5 separate regions of the Homo sapiens genome follow, and all the other regions are linked to region 3. The links are contacts of gene promoters, found by promoter capture Hi-C in blood cells and fetal thymus (Javierre and others, 2016). All regions are on one chromosome and are shown on one strand. Each heading gives the region's core, a stretch centred on a gene start or on the middle of the fragment in contact. The rest is flanking DNA. Distances are from core to core; before and after follow the strand shown.

Region 1 (2,700 bases), core at 21-2,520, 400 kb before region 3:
CAAGCTGGTTACAGTGATCCATCTAAGCTAAAGTTTGAGTTGTAGGCTAGATGCAGTGTTACAAGATCACCCAGGTGACAGAAGAGGAGAGGAAGGGGCATTAAGGGAGGAAGGGCTCCTGGGCCCTGCCTGCCATATATGCTTGCTATCTTTTTCTTAGAGAATAGGAGAAAAGAGGCTGTGAATTCCTTATTACCTTGGCAGCCTGGTGATGTTGCTCCAAGACCTTGTCCACAGTGAATTGGATGGAACCTTGCACTACACTGTGGCTCTCCACAAGGATGGCATTGAGATGAGTTGTGAGCAAAGTATAGACTCCTAAGGGGAGGGAGAAGGTAAAATTATCACTATATCTACCTCCCCTCACTGTGCATCTGCAAAAGCTAGTCTTAAATTACCAGATGTGGCCTGTAATCCCAGCACTTTGGGAGGCCGAGGCGGGCGGATCACGAGGTCAGGAGATCGAGACCACGGTGAAACCCCGTCTCCACTAAAAATACAAAAAATTAGCCAAGCACGGTGGCGGGCACCTGTAGTCCCAGCTACTCGGGAGGCTGAGGCAGGAGAATGGCGTGAACCCGGGAGGCGGAGCTTGCAGTGAGCCAAGATTGTGCCACTGCGCTCCAGCCTGGGTGACAGAGTGAGACTCCGTCTCAAAAAAAAAAAAAAAAAAATTACCAGATGTGTAAGATTTAAGACACTTGTTTACTAATACACTGATGAATTTCTTTTAAATCCAATACTGAGTACAACGACTGAGATACTGCAGGCCCTCAGAATCAAGCTAAACAGAGGTGTACAAATTATCACAGTAGTTCAGGAATGATAACACTGGTTTCTGAGGAATCCGAGTTCTTTAGAAATGTTCAGTAGGGCTCAGAACATGGTATCAGGCTTGCATTATCCAAGGATTAACCATGAGCGAGGATAACTACTTCAAGATTGCTGTTCATGTGCTTTGAGTCAGGACTGGGAGTGGGAAAGATGCCTCTTGGAAGAAGAGACCCCTACATATCCACAAATAATTACCTTTTTTTAGACAAAATCTCCCAGCAACTTACACACCTACCTAATTCCCACTCATAAATCTAAGAAAGCTCAGGAAAATTAAGGTGGAGAATGACATTATTTTTTAAAGAAACAAATAAGGGATCCTGTTTAATTCATAGCAGAAATATATACCATGTACTATAAACAACAATCCCAGTGACTCCCAAAGGAGAGGAGAAAGGGAGAAGCAAAGGTCCTATAGAGTGTGTCTAACCCTACTCTACGTCTATGTGAACATCACTGTTGTGGCAGTGCTTTCAGACGTACTGTGGTAAAGAAAAGGTTAAAATTCACAGAGATGACACAGAACTGTTGGTATGAGGTCCTTTTAAATGGGAGATTATCTCTGTTAAAGTAACCACAGGCACCACTGCTCAGTCTCATTCAGAAAAGCTAATATGTGAGAGCAACAGGCAAAAAAACTATGCCATCAAACAATAGGCCACCATTTAATGATCCCGATGCAGCAGGCACAGGAAGCCAAATTTACAGGTCACCTGGAGAAAATCCTTCTTGATTATTCTTTGTTTTCAGTGTTCAGAATTCTATGGGAAGCAGCCTAAAACTGGCTGGCTTTTTCCAGGACTGTATTAAAAATGCAAACCAGAAGAACATTTTCTACCACAAGGCACCATGATCCTTTCCTGGTAGGGAACGTAATATATGGTAAGCTCAAAAGGATTCTGGAGCTGGAGTCAGGGAGAACATAGATTCTAGGGCCAATTCTGCCATCAACTAGTGGTGATGAAATCTTTTCTTCAGTATAGAAAATGGCTTTATACCACCTGCTCTCACAGGTATGTTGTGTAGATAAACTGCGATAATGTACACAAAGTGTTTTGTGGGTTTTGTTGCCCAGCCTGGAGTGCAGTGACACGATCTTGGCTCACTGCAGCCTCGACCACCGGGGCTCAAGTGATCCTCCCACCTCAGCCTCCCGAATAGCTGGGACCACAGGTGTACACCACCACCATGCCTGGCCAATTTTTTTTTTTTTTTTTTTTTTAAGACAAGAGTTTTGCTCTTGTTGCCCGAGCTGGAGTGCAATGGCGTGATCTCGGCTCACTGCAACCTCCGCCTCCTGGATTCAAGTGATTATCTTGCCTCAGCCTCCCGAGTAGCTGGGATTACAGGCGCCTGCCACCACACCCAGCTAATTTTTGTATTTTTAGTAGAGACGGGGTTTCGCCATGTTGGCCAGACTGGTCTCAAACTCCTGACCTCAGTGTGATCCGCCCGCCTCGGCCTCCCAAAGTGCTGGGATTACAGGTGTGAGGGACCATGCCCGGGCAAATTTGTATATGTAGAGACGAGGTCTCGCTGTGTTGCCCGAGCTGGTCTTGAACTCTTGGGCTCAAGCGGTCCTCCTGCTTTGGCCCCTCAAAGTATTGGGATTACAGGAGCCAAGCCACAGTGCCTAGCCCATGAAGTGTTTTGAAATGTACACTGTACAGTTTCAAAATATTGCTATTGCTATGTTAATGTATCATCTAGATTGGTATTTTCCATAGTTTGGTTTTAAGAACAGCTTCAAGAAATCAGATCTCTTTTGAAAGCAGACATTTAATTTAAAAGTCAAAGTTCATTCCTAAAACTTTTGACCACCAAATGCTTTTGACATTGGGGAAAATAATGAGTTAGTCACAAGAA
Region 2 (2,727 bases), core at 94-2,593, 380 kb before region 3:
CCTGCTTTTGCTGCCACTAACGGATGCTTCTTAGTTTCTCTTTTTAAAAAAACATTTTAGACCAGGCATTGTGGCTCATGCCTGTAATCCCAGCACTTTGGGAGGCTGAGGTGGGTGGATCACTTGAGGTCAGGAGTTCAAGACCAACCTGGCCAACATGGTGAAACTCCATCTCTACTAAAGATACAATAGCTGTGCATGATGGTGCACACCTGTAATCCCAGCTATTCAGGAGGCTGAGGCAGGAGAATCGCTTGAACCTGGGAAGCGGAGGTTGCAGTGAGCTGATATTGCGCCACTGCACTCCAGCCTGAGCAACAGAGCGAGACTTTGTCTCGAAAAATAATTACTATTATTTTATTTTATTAGAGATGGGGTCTCACTATGTTTATTAGGCTGGTCTCAAACTCCTGGCCTCAAGCAATCTTTCTGCCTTGGCCTCCCAAAGTGCTGGGACTACAGGTGTGAGATATCATGACCAGCCTGTTTCTTATTCTCAAGTATACTTCCTCCACTAAAATTAATCTTTGGTTCTGAGCAAATTTCCAAATTCATTCAAAGGTCAGCATTGTGTGAGGGGGCCCATGAATCACAAATGGCCTAAAACTGGCCCCATGATACTTATAAGTCTGCTCTCACGCATGCTACACCTTCCGCTGAAGAGGTCTGAGGTTGCTGTTTGATAGTAACAATGAGAAAAAACCAGGCCATCTTTCTCTCCTAGAAAGAATCTAGTAAAATTTTGTTACTTTCCAATAGCTCTTTTCTAAACAGAGAGAAAACAGTCAACCTGAGAAAGCTGATTAAGAATGAATGAATTAATTAATAGAGAGGAAATATTAATGAACCTTTCCCTTTGTCTCTAATCAGGTCATCCAAGGAAACACATCTACAAAAATTGGCTCAAAGGCTTAAACTTGTGTCAGTACAACTATGATGATGAGCTGCTACCTGTAAGGATTGTTTATTATTAGAGGATCACTAAAGAAAGATATGGGGTGGGGAAATTATTACCTGCATATTAAATGACAAAAATATTCTCATCTGAGGTGTAATTTTGGGTGAGAATAAGAAAACAGACTAAGAACCACAGGCAGTCTCTTTAAGCCTTAAGAGACTTTGACTACTAGTGTTGCCTCTGGGCACATAAATAGAGGCAGAAACTAATGAATAAAGACTAAATTAGGGCTGGACACATTGGCTCACATCTGTAATCCCAGCTCTTTGAAAGGCCGAGGCAGGAGGATTGCTTGAGTCCAGGAGTTTGACACCAGCCTAGGCAACAACCTCATCTCTACAAAAAAAAATTTTTTTTAAATTAGCAGTATATGGGCTGGGCGCAGTGGCTCATGCCTGTAATCTCAGCACTTTGGGAGACCGAGGCAGGAGGATCACGAGGTCAGGAGATTGAGACCATCCTGGCCAACATGGTGAAACCCCATTTCTACTAAAAATACAAAAAAATTAGCTGGGCGTGGTGGCATGCACCTATAGTCCCAGCTACTCAGGAGATTGAGGCAGGAGAATCGCTTGAACCAGGGAGGTGGAGGTTGCAGTGAGGTGAGATCTGCACTCCAGCCTGGGCGAAAGAGCGAGACTCCGTCTCAAAAAAAAAAAAAATTAGCAGCGTATGGTAGCATATTTCTGTGGTCCTAGCTACTAGCTACTCGAGAGGCTGAGGTGGGAAAATGACTTGAGCCCAGGAGACCAAGGCTGCAGTGAGCTATGATGGCATCTGGGTTGAACAGACTGAGACCCTGTCTCAAAAAAAGAAAAAATAAATTAATTGGACTTAAGCATATGTTAGGTCTTTTCTTGACATAATTCATTTTCACTTTGGATTCTGTGGTAGTTAAATGGCACAGGAAGGCAAGACAGAAGGGCTCTGTGTGTTCCATATTGTTTACCACCTCCTCCATGGATTTTTTACATTTTTTATTTATTTATTTTTTTTGAGACAGAGTCTTGCTCTGTCGCTGGAGTGCAGTGGCGTGATCTCGGCTCACTGCAACCTCCACCTCCTGGGTTCAAGTGATTCTCATGCTTTGGCCTCCCAAGTAGCTGGGATTACAGGCATGTGCTACCATGCCCAGCTAATTTTTGTATTTTTAGCAGAGACAGGGTTTTGCCATGTTGGCCAGGCTGGTCTCAAACTCTTAACCTCAAGTGATCCATCAACTTCAGCCTCCCAAAGTGCTGGGATTATAGGCATGAGCCACTGCGCCTGGCCAGATTTACTTTCTTGGAGTCTGAAGAAGATGGAGATGGGCAGAGAGATGATTTCCAAACCTATGCAAAATGCTGATGCACAGAAAATAATGTACACTGAATTCCTTTGTATTCATACTATCTCTCTAGCCAAGAATTCAAGTAAAGTTTTAAATTCATAGTCTTCTCTTCTCATGCCTAAATGGGATTGGAACTAGCAGGGTCTGTGTAAAATAAGGCCTGAAGAGAAGAAGGCACATGTCTTCAGGTCATTTAGAATAGATTCAAATACATAAATAACTTAAAATAGCAGTTTTCAACATAAAAAAAAGTTTTACTTCTGCTTTTCTTATAGAGAAGCTGACACCTGGCACTTACAAATGACAAGTGAGACAATTTCCAATTTCTACCCACATTCGTACTCGAGAGGAGAGTAAAACATGCAGAGGGACAACAAGGCTTTACGCCTTCACCTCACATAATGCTGGGAGTCGACCAAAAGAGCAATTCCATTCCCAA
Region 3 (2,700 bases), core at 125-2,624:
AGGAGCCAATCTTTGATCTACAGTATCTTGTAGGGTATAACCTCTCCCTCCATAGTAATTCCCAGTTCCTCAGGAGTGGAAGGCTCACGGCACCCACTCCATGCCCAGCCTCAGCTGAAAGGACCCTTAGCACTCACCATGGAGTGGCCCAGATGCTCGCTCACACTCTCAGACAGGTAGAGCAATTTCCCCTCGGCTGTGAACACAAGCAGAAAGCCGGGTAGTGCCGCTACGATGTCCTCAAGCTCTTGAGCTGAGAGAAGCCCCGTGGGGCCCGCCAGAGGAGTGCCTGTAGGGCGAGAAGACGTAGTGCGTCAGGAGTAAGACTGGGAGGCAGAGAAGAAGTGAGGAAGGCATGGTCTGAGTTTCAGAGAATCCAGAGGAATTTCTCATGGACCTGCCTCTGCAAACACCTGTTGACCCGCTGCCCGCAGCTCTTGGCCAGGGAACCTGTTGCTGTATCTCCATAGCCCACAAGCCCTCGACTTCTAAAGCGGGGTCGGCTCCTCTCGGCTCTTAATTTCAGAACCGCGGACAGAGCTCCAAAGCGGCTCTGAATTTCAGAACCGCGGACAGAGCTCCGAAGCCGACTGTGGGTTCAGAACCATGGACAGAGCCATACACGGCCGGCGCAGCCGTCAGCACCATGGGCAGCGCCCCGAAGGCGACAGGAGATCCCTTTCAGCACCGCGGACAGTAGCTATGTTCCCCTAGGCTCAGGCAGCTCCATCCCTGCAACTTCCCGGGCTTCCCTCCCCGGCTCCCGGAGCGCTTCTGCACTGGCGGGCACCGAGGCCGCTCTGTCCTGGCTCTTATCCTCTCATAATCTGGTGTTAGGGACACCGTCCAGGCTCTCTAACTCTCATTCAGAACTAAGGTGAGGTCTGGAGGGAGCTCAGGAGGAAAAGTAGAAAGTCCCGAATCTCCCGAGTCCCGAATCTCCCCAGCTCGCCAGCACGCTGCCCTAGACATGCGACAGCCCCAGCGGGTTCCCTCAGCTCCAGGGTCTCCGGCGCCTGGCAGCTCGGATCTGCGGTAGCCCCAGCATGCTCACCACCAGCGAAGAAGACGCCCTTGCGAGTGTAGATGCAGGCGAGGCTCATGATGTGCAGGTAGGACAGCCGGACCTTGTCCGCTTCGGCCAGCGGCAGCAGCTCCTTGAGGTTCCGGATCTCGGCGTTGATCTGGTCCCGGCGCGCCTTGGAGGCGCCCTTGGTGGAGCGGTACATGACCGGCGGCTGCGGAGCTCCAGCTCGGGTGCCCGAGCACCTGCGCTCCCGTCCCGACGCACCGGCGGCTTCCTCCTCCGTGCTTCCCCGTCTCTCGCTCAGGCTCGCTCTCTGCTCTCCTGGGCTCCGCTCGGCTGCGCTGCCCCCCTCGCCTGCCTCACGCCGCCTTATATAGCTCCTGCCAGGCGTGGGGGGCTCGTTTTAGAGCCGGGGGGGCGGGAGAGCGGGAGGCTGGGCTAAGCAAGCTGCAGCGGGAGCCGCTGACTGGGGAGGGGGGCTCCTCCTCCCGCCCGGCTTCCGACGTCATCTCATGACGTAGAATGAGAGAGGGAGGGAGGCGGGCGAGGGGGGAGCAGGAGGCTGCGGAGGGGGCCAAGCCTGGCGGGAGCTGAGCGGAGAGGAAGGCGCTGCGTTAGGAAAGCTTGAATGGAGTGTGGGGACCCTGGCGTCTGAATGCGTTCAGTTGAGGGAAGCGACAGGGCCAGGTTTAGGGCGGCCTGAAGCCCGCGGCAGGAGTCCGCAGAGGGCAGAGAGGGGCCGGCACTGACACTAATTTTTCTGAGGAGTTGAGGGAATGGGGAAGAACAGGGTTGTCTACAAATCCCCCTCGTTACTTGACAGACAAGGTCACGTTCACATGCAGGGAAGGAGGACTTTCCTTGGCCTCCGTGGGACAGGTCACTGCTGGGGTTCCTCTCTGGGGACTATTTAACCTGGGATTCCCTTGGCCATTTTTAGAGAACAAATTCCCGCCCCCGCTTCCCAAATCGGGCCTTGGCGGCTTATCAGGGGGTGTTCATGGGGGTCTAAGTCCCGAGGATGGGTGGAAAGGGAGTCCGGTGGGAAAGGGACCAGCTGAATTTGGCGTTGATCCTGTTTTCCCACAGCCAAGAATAGAAACCAACATCAGCGCTGTAGTCTGCAGTGATTCGTGGTTTCCCTCTCAGCTAATTAACCTTACTGAAGGGGAAACTGAGGCAGGGACGTGGGGGCACGGCGAGGACCTGGGTCTGCACTTAGGCATCCCTTCCCCCCGTTGCCGGCCCCCAAGCGAGCGCTTCCCCCCGCCCTGCTGCCAGCCTCTGTCTCCCCGCGGGCCGGGGGCGGGGGCGGGGCCGGGGGAATCCCAGCTCCATATTAGGACAGGAATCCTCCGGCGGCTGCCGCGGCTGCGGCGGGCGGGGCCTGGCTGCCTCCGCACCGCTCCGGAGGGCTCCCCGCCCTGCCTAGGCGGGCAAGATGGGGGAGCAGCTGAGAAGCGAAGGGGCAGCGCCGGACCCTCCATGACCCCTGCACCTACCAGGGACCCTGTATTTTTGCCAGGTTCCCTCCACCCCTCTCCACATTTGCGCCTCTAAGGCTCCTGGCTCTGCCTCTCCACCTTCAGCTCTCCACTTTCCACCTTCGTTTCTTTTTCTGTCCTTTCATATCCTTTTCTATCCTTTTCATATCCTGTCACCTTTGCCCTATC
Region 4 (2,724 bases), core at 65-2,564, 270 kb before region 3:
GCGGGTGTGGGTGCAGGTTTGTTATAAGTTATATTGTGTGATGCTGAAGTTTGGGGTGTAATTGAACCCATCACCCATGTAGTGAGCACAGTACCCAATAGGGATTTTTTCAACCCCTGCCCTTGGATTCTTGTGCATATAAAGTTCGAGATCCACTGATCCAGCCCATGAGGGGATGCTCTCCCTGGGTGAGCTGCAGTGATGAGCAGCCACAGTGGGCTGGATAGAGACTGGTTGGTGTCTCTGCTGGGCATGAAGGCGGAAATGCAGAGCTAACATGTCCTTCCTCCTGGCGGTTTGCAGATGCTGGAATGGGAGATGGCTGTGAGAGAGAAGGAGGTGGAGGCAATCCAGGCCCAGGCCAAAGCACTGGCCCAGGAGGACCAGGGTGCAGGGGAGGTGGAGAGAACCTCGAGGGCCGTGGAGGAGAAGTTCAGGGCCTTGTGCCAGCCCATGCGGGAACGCTGCCGGCGCCTGCAGGCTTCTCGCGAGCAGCACCAGTTCCACCGCGATGTGGAAGATGAGATTGTGAGTCACTGGGGCCAAGGACGGCAAGCTGCCCCCAGCCATGTGGTTCTCCAGCCTCCCTCCTGGATGCCAGGGAGATGCCAGCAGGGCTCTATTCCCTCTTCTCTTTGGCATTGACCATCTCCCCTATAGGGAGACTTGGAGATGCCTCCCAGAACCAGAGATGACTGTTCCCCACACACAGGGCGGTAGCCCCAGGTGTCCCCACTCCCACTAATCAGTCCCTGCTGCTTGCCTTGCCCTCTGGGCCTCCACTGACCCCCTCTTCCTCTTCCAGTTGTGGGTGACAGAGCGGCTGCCCATGGCCAGCTCCATGGAGCATGGCAAGGACCTGCCCAGCGTCCAGCTTCTCATGAAGAAAAACCAGGTGAGGCAGAGGCTGAAGGCAAAAGAGAAGTTCCCAGGAGCCTGCCCAGACTTGGACGTGTTTTTTCTTAAGACCAGGCCCCCCTCGATGCTGAGTGTAACCCTGGACTTCAGTGGCTGTCTTTCCTCACCTTGGGAGGGTGGGTCCTCTCAGTAGGAGATAGTGGGGGCTGGGCGGCTGACGGGTGTTACCATCGCACCCCCAGGCTAGGAGAGGGAGCAGAGGACCCAGGAAGGAGAGAGGCACAGGGGTGAAGGGTGGTCTCCGGGAGCACGTGGGGCTGGGGCAGGACTTTCAGCATTTTCTCTTCTGTGGCCATGGGCAGACCCTGCAGAAAGAGATTCAGGGCCATGAGCCCCGGATCGCGGACCTGAGGGAGCGGCAGCGTGCTCTAGGTGCAGCAGCAGCAGGTCCAGAGCTGGCTGAGCTGCAGGAAATGTGGAAACGCCTGGGCCACGAGCTGGAACTTCGAGGGAAGCGACTGGAGGATGCCCTGCGAGCCCAGCAGTTCTACCGCGATGCCGCCGAGGCGGAGGCCTGGATGGGCGAGCAGGAATTACACATGATGGGCCAGGAGAAGGCCAAGGTGAGGGCCAGGACAGAGCCCAGTGTATGTGACCAGTTCTGCCCTCCCCTGACCTGATGCTGGATGCCACTGTCCCTTCCCCCAGGATGAGCTGAGTGCCCAGGCAGAGGTGAAGAAGCACCAGGTGCTGGAGCAAGCCCTGGCCGACTACGCGCAGACCATCCACCAGCTGGCGGCCAGCAGCCAGGACATGATTGACCACGAGCACCCAGAGAGGTGGGTGCAGCGGCAGCCCGGCCCAGCCTGGGGGTGGAGCCGGCTGCAGGAACAGGAAGGTGCAGGGAATGTGGAGCCTTCAGTGCTGTGTGCACGGAGCCTTCTAGAAAGCTGGAACACAGGGTGGGCGAGCTGTTGGGAGACTCAGAGGGACAGGGCTCCACAGAACAGACCGGAGGTCAGAGCTACACCCCTAAGTCCCACAGTGCCTCCCTCACTCTTCTTGCAGCACTCGGATATCCATCCGCCAAGCCCAGGTGGACAAGCTGTATGCCGGCCTGAAGGAGCTGGCTGGAGAGCGGCGGGAGCGCCTGCAGGAGCACCTCCGGCTGTGCCAGCTCCGCCGCGAGCTGGATGACCTGGAACAGTGGATCCAGGAGCGCGAGGTGGTGGCGGCCTCCCACGAGCTGGGCCAGGACTACGAGCATGTGACTGTGAGTGTAGGGAGGGCACCCAGCTCAGATCAACCGTGGGAAGAGTGGAGGACCCACAGGGAGACTAGGACCTAGTCCCAGGCAGAGCACTGAGGGGCTAAGGGGCAAGACCAGGCTGAGCAGGCACTGTCCTCCTGGTTTTGAGGTATATGATTTGAAGAGGCCGGGCATAGGCTCACACCTGTAATCCTAGCACCTTGGGAGGCTGAGATGGGAGGATTGCTTGAGTCCAGGAGTTCAAGACCAGCCTGGGCAACATAGTGAGACCCCCCATCTCTACAAAAAAAATTTTTTTTTATTAGCCAGGCACAGCCGTGCATGCCTGTAGGCCCAACTACTTAGGAGGCTGAGGTGGGAGGATCTCTTGAGCCTGGGAGGTCGACACTGCAGTGATTGCGCTAGTGCACTCCAGAGCAAGACCCTATCATCTCTAAATACATACACACACACACAATTTGAAGAATTGTACAGAAAGGGGACATGAAGCTGAGCTGAGACAAGGGCAAACAGGAAATTATCACTCACACTTTTCAACAGAATTCAACAAAACGGAGTATGATCCACCCCCCCGACAGTTTGGGGGCTTGGACCCT
Region 5 (2,778 bases), core at 16-2,515, 420 kb before region 3:
TGAGATGACCTGAATGGAAGGCATTAGCTGAGGCAAGGGCATCCTGGAAGTAAACTCTGGAGACACCAAAATTTAAGCAAGACTAGCTCTGGTTGGGGAAGCAGGGGACAGTGCTCTCTGATCCACACCAAATACTGCTGGGGGTTCCCAGGGAACTCCTTGGACGTTGGCAATCAACCCTTAGAGGCCACCTAGCTCTATGTTTCCATTTTACTGATGAGAAAACACACCCAGAGAGATGACATTTCACGTGTCCAGATCACACCCTGAGCCCGCTGACTCCCTGCCCCAATGTCCTGGACTGCCTGTGCCTACTTTTCCCTTCAGCCTTTAAGACTCACCCAGGACAACCTTCAGCCCATCTGCCAGGTCACAAGGGCAATCCATAGAGAGCTGCATCAGTGGGCCCAGGAAAAGAATCTGAGGGCAAGAAAACACTTTCACCATAACCCACCGCTTTTGCCCAGACCTTTGCCCATGCTCCCTGAGACTCCAAGCTTGAAATCCTCTCCAGCCACGATTTCCAGACCATGCATACCGGAGGACCCTGGGGCCATCTCAAAAGTCCTGTCTCCCATCAACCAAAAACCAAAAACAAGAGTCCACGGCACTGCCCATCAGGCTGATAACAAAGACCAGAAGAAAAAATACAGCAGGAGCACTCACCATGGTCAGCAACAGGGGCAGCAGCGCCGCTGGGAAAATGCCCTCCAGCCTGAAGCCCATCAGGGTGAGCAGGGATGTGCCTGGCTGAGCCACAGGAAAGGGGGCATCAGTTTTGCTTCCTCCCCTAAAGACCCCTGAGCTCTCACCGCCGTTGCCCTTTGCCCCGCCTCCTTCGCACCTGGATGCCTGTGAGTTCCCTCCAGAGCAGCACGCACAGGGGTGAGAGACTGGACACCACCAGGACGCTGGTGAAGCGTCGCTTGATGACCGCGGGATGGTCCCTACGGAGGGGACAGTAAGTTCAGGGGGCCCGCGGCTGCCCATGAGCACGGACCCGCCCCCGGCTCGCCCAAGCTCCGCCCGCAGGGCGCGGATTCCGGTCGCGCGCAGCCCCCGCACCTGGGCAGTTCGCTCTTCCAGACGTAGAGGCTGCCCACGTAGGAGCAGGCGAGGCTGAGGCAGGAGAACACTGACACCCAGCAGCACAGCCCGGGGCCCAGGCCGCCCAGCGCCGCCGACTCGGGCGGCCGCTCCGGCCGCGACACCGACAGCAGTCGCAGCCCATCCCCGCCCAGCGCCGCCATTGCGCCCTGACCCGCGGCGCGCACCAGTGACGCAGTCCCAGGGAGGTGTGGGTGACGTCAGGCCGCGGCGCGGCTCCACGCCCCGCCCCGCCCCGCCCGGGCCCGACGCGGAAGCAGACGCGGAAGAGGACTTGGTGAGCGCGCGGCAGCTTTATTAAACCACGGGATAACGGCTGCCCGCAGCCTCCGGATCGGTGGGCGCTTGCGGAAGGGGACCCGGCTCAGGGCCCAGGGCTGGGACTCAGCCACTCTGACAGGTTGGAGACCTCCTGCAGCCACAGCACGTCCTGCGGGAACAAGGGGGCCCGGGGTGAGGACCTCTCAGCAGCGGCCCGTGGCCTGCACCTCCTGCTGAGCCCTTCCCTGCGCGGCCCTCGCCCAGTTACCTCCAGGCGGCTTCCGAGGCTCGCCCTGCCCGGCGCCAGGGCCCTGCCGTGAGCCTCGCGGTGCTCCCTTCCTCTAGGAGTGAGGGGGGCCGCGGTGGCTTCCGGGCGGCGCGGGGCGGCCTCTGACGGGCTCGGGGCCCTGGCAGAGCGCAGAGCTCGCATCTCCTCTATGCGGGGGCTGCCCCTCTTGAGCCTCTTGTTTTCTGCTTGCCCGCTGGTATCTAGGAGAAAAACAAGCCTCTTCATCTTACTTTCATGGCCCTGTGCTAGGAGCACCCTTGGCCAAGGGGAAGCCTGGGAGAACGGGCGCCGAGGGGCTCTTCCCACCGCATCCCTGTCAGCAGGTCCCATCCACACCAAAACCCTGCAGCTGTGGGCGCTTCTGGAGCAGCCCGAGGCTGCAGAGACGTTTCAGGGTCTCCCTATTCTCTCACCCAGGCGGGAGATTGTCCCGAGCCCTCACTTGGGGGACTCAGGCCGCTCAGTAACTTTCTGTATAGATTCTTCCTGGAGTCTGCACTGACAAGCTCCCCTCCCTGCCAGCCTCTGTCCCCCCTCACCTTTCTGGCCTCAGTTCTGTCTCCCTTTGTTGCTCACGTTGCATTGAGCAGTGCCCATAGGCAGCTTTCCTACTCTTAACTGATTCATTTGTCAAATTAAAGCGAGTTTAGATGGATAGATTCTTCCCCAGCAGGTCTTGGGGATGCAGATCAATGAGCTTTTCCCTGAGAGAAGCTCACAGATGCTAGGAGGGGATGCAGACCTGTGTACAAAGCCCAGGGTTAGAATAGAGAAGGAAGCCGACCACCTCTGGATGTGAAGAAGGGTTTCCATGAGGAGATACCTGAGCTGACCTTTTGTTTTTTTGAGACAAGGTCTTGCTCTGTTGCCCAGGCTGGAGTGCAGTGGCTCAGTCCTGGCTCACTGCAGCCTCGACCTCCTGGGCTCAAGCGATCCTACTGCCTCAGCTTCAGCTTCCAGAGTACCAGGAACCACAGGCGCATGCCACCACACCGGCTAATTTTTTTTACTTGTAGAGACAGGGGTCTCACCGTGTTGCCCAGGCTAGTCTCAAGCTGTCCTCCCGCCCCAGCTCCCCAAAGTGACGGTATTACAGGCATAAGTCACCACTCCTGCCCCAG

The links. Contacts are between HindIII fragments. The CHiCAGO score rates a contact against its expected background, and 5 or more counts as called.
Region 1: a fragment that was not itself captured here is called in contact with the fragment with the promoter of NPAS4 in region 3 in 2 of 17 cell types (erythroblasts and M1 macrophages); the score reaches 7.1 in erythroblasts.
Region 2: a contact is called between a fragment that was not itself captured here and the fragment with the promoter of NPAS4 in region 3, in 1 of 17 cell types (erythroblasts). The highest score is 7.1, in erythroblasts.
Region 4: a contact is called between a fragment that was not itself captured here and the fragment with the promoter of NPAS4 in region 3, in 1 of 17 cell types (M1 macrophages). The highest score is 5.2, in M1 macrophages.
Region 5: a contact is called between the fragment with the promoter of RCE1 here and the fragment with the promoter of NPAS4 in region 3, in 1 of 17 cell types (erythroblasts). The highest score is 5.2, in erythroblasts.

The regions. Positions count from the first base shown.
Region 1 is chr11:66,819,261-66,821,960 of GRCh38, reverse strand. It overlaps TOP6BL (TOP6B like initiator of meiotic double strand breaks), which reads right to left. Exons shown (of 15, transcript NM_001302084.2): 10 at 197-318. Among named protein-coding and RNA genes, the nearest start is that of RCE1, 23 kb to the left of the region's middle. The HindIII fragment of the contact is 3,144 bases long and covers 1-2,700 here.
Region 2 is chr11:66,801,057-66,803,783 of GRCh38, reverse strand. It overlaps TOP6BL (TOP6B like initiator of meiotic double strand breaks), which reads right to left. Exons shown (of 15, transcript NM_001302084.2): 6 at 2,682-2,727. Among named protein-coding and RNA genes, the nearest start is that of RCE1, 41 kb to the left of the region's middle. The HindIII fragment of the contact is 3,787 bases long and covers 1-2,727 here.
Region 3 is chr11:66,419,709-66,422,408 of GRCh38, reverse strand. NPAS4 (neuronal PAS domain protein 4) reads right to left here and starts at 1,374. Exons shown (of 8, transcript NM_178864.4): 1 at 1,055-1,374; 2 at 138-289. The coding sequence starts at 1,229. RefSeq lists silencers at 497-791, 485-799 and an enhancer at 732-1,328. The HindIII fragment of the contact is 6,351 bases long and covers 1-1,652 here.
Region 4 is chr11:66,691,943-66,694,666 of GRCh38, reverse strand. It overlaps SPTBN2 (spectrin beta, non-erythrocytic 2), which reads left to right. Exons shown (of 38, transcript NM_006946.4): 22 at 304-528; 23 at 806-895; 24 at 1,221-1,481; 25 at 1,567-1,697; 26 at 1,927-2,131. Among named protein-coding and RNA genes, the nearest start is that of RBM4B, 15 kb to the right of the region's middle. The HindIII fragment of the contact is 9,386 bases long and covers 1-2,724 here.
Region 5 is chr11:66,841,928-66,844,705 of GRCh38, reverse strand. RCE1 (Ras converting CAAX endopeptidase 1) reads right to left here and starts at 1,265. Exons shown (of 8, transcript NM_005133.3): 1 at 1,066-1,265; 2 at 845-947; 3 at 667-750; 4 at 342-420. The coding sequence starts at 1,250. TOP6BL (TOP6B like initiator of meiotic double strand breaks) reads right to left here. Exons shown (of 15, transcript NM_001302084.2): 14 at 1,637-1,857; 15 at 1,190-1,537. The coding sequence ends at 1,472. RefSeq lists an enhancer at 688-1,394 and silencers at 1,035-1,474, 1,585-1,724. The HindIII fragment of the contact is 21,944 bases long and covers 500-2,778 here.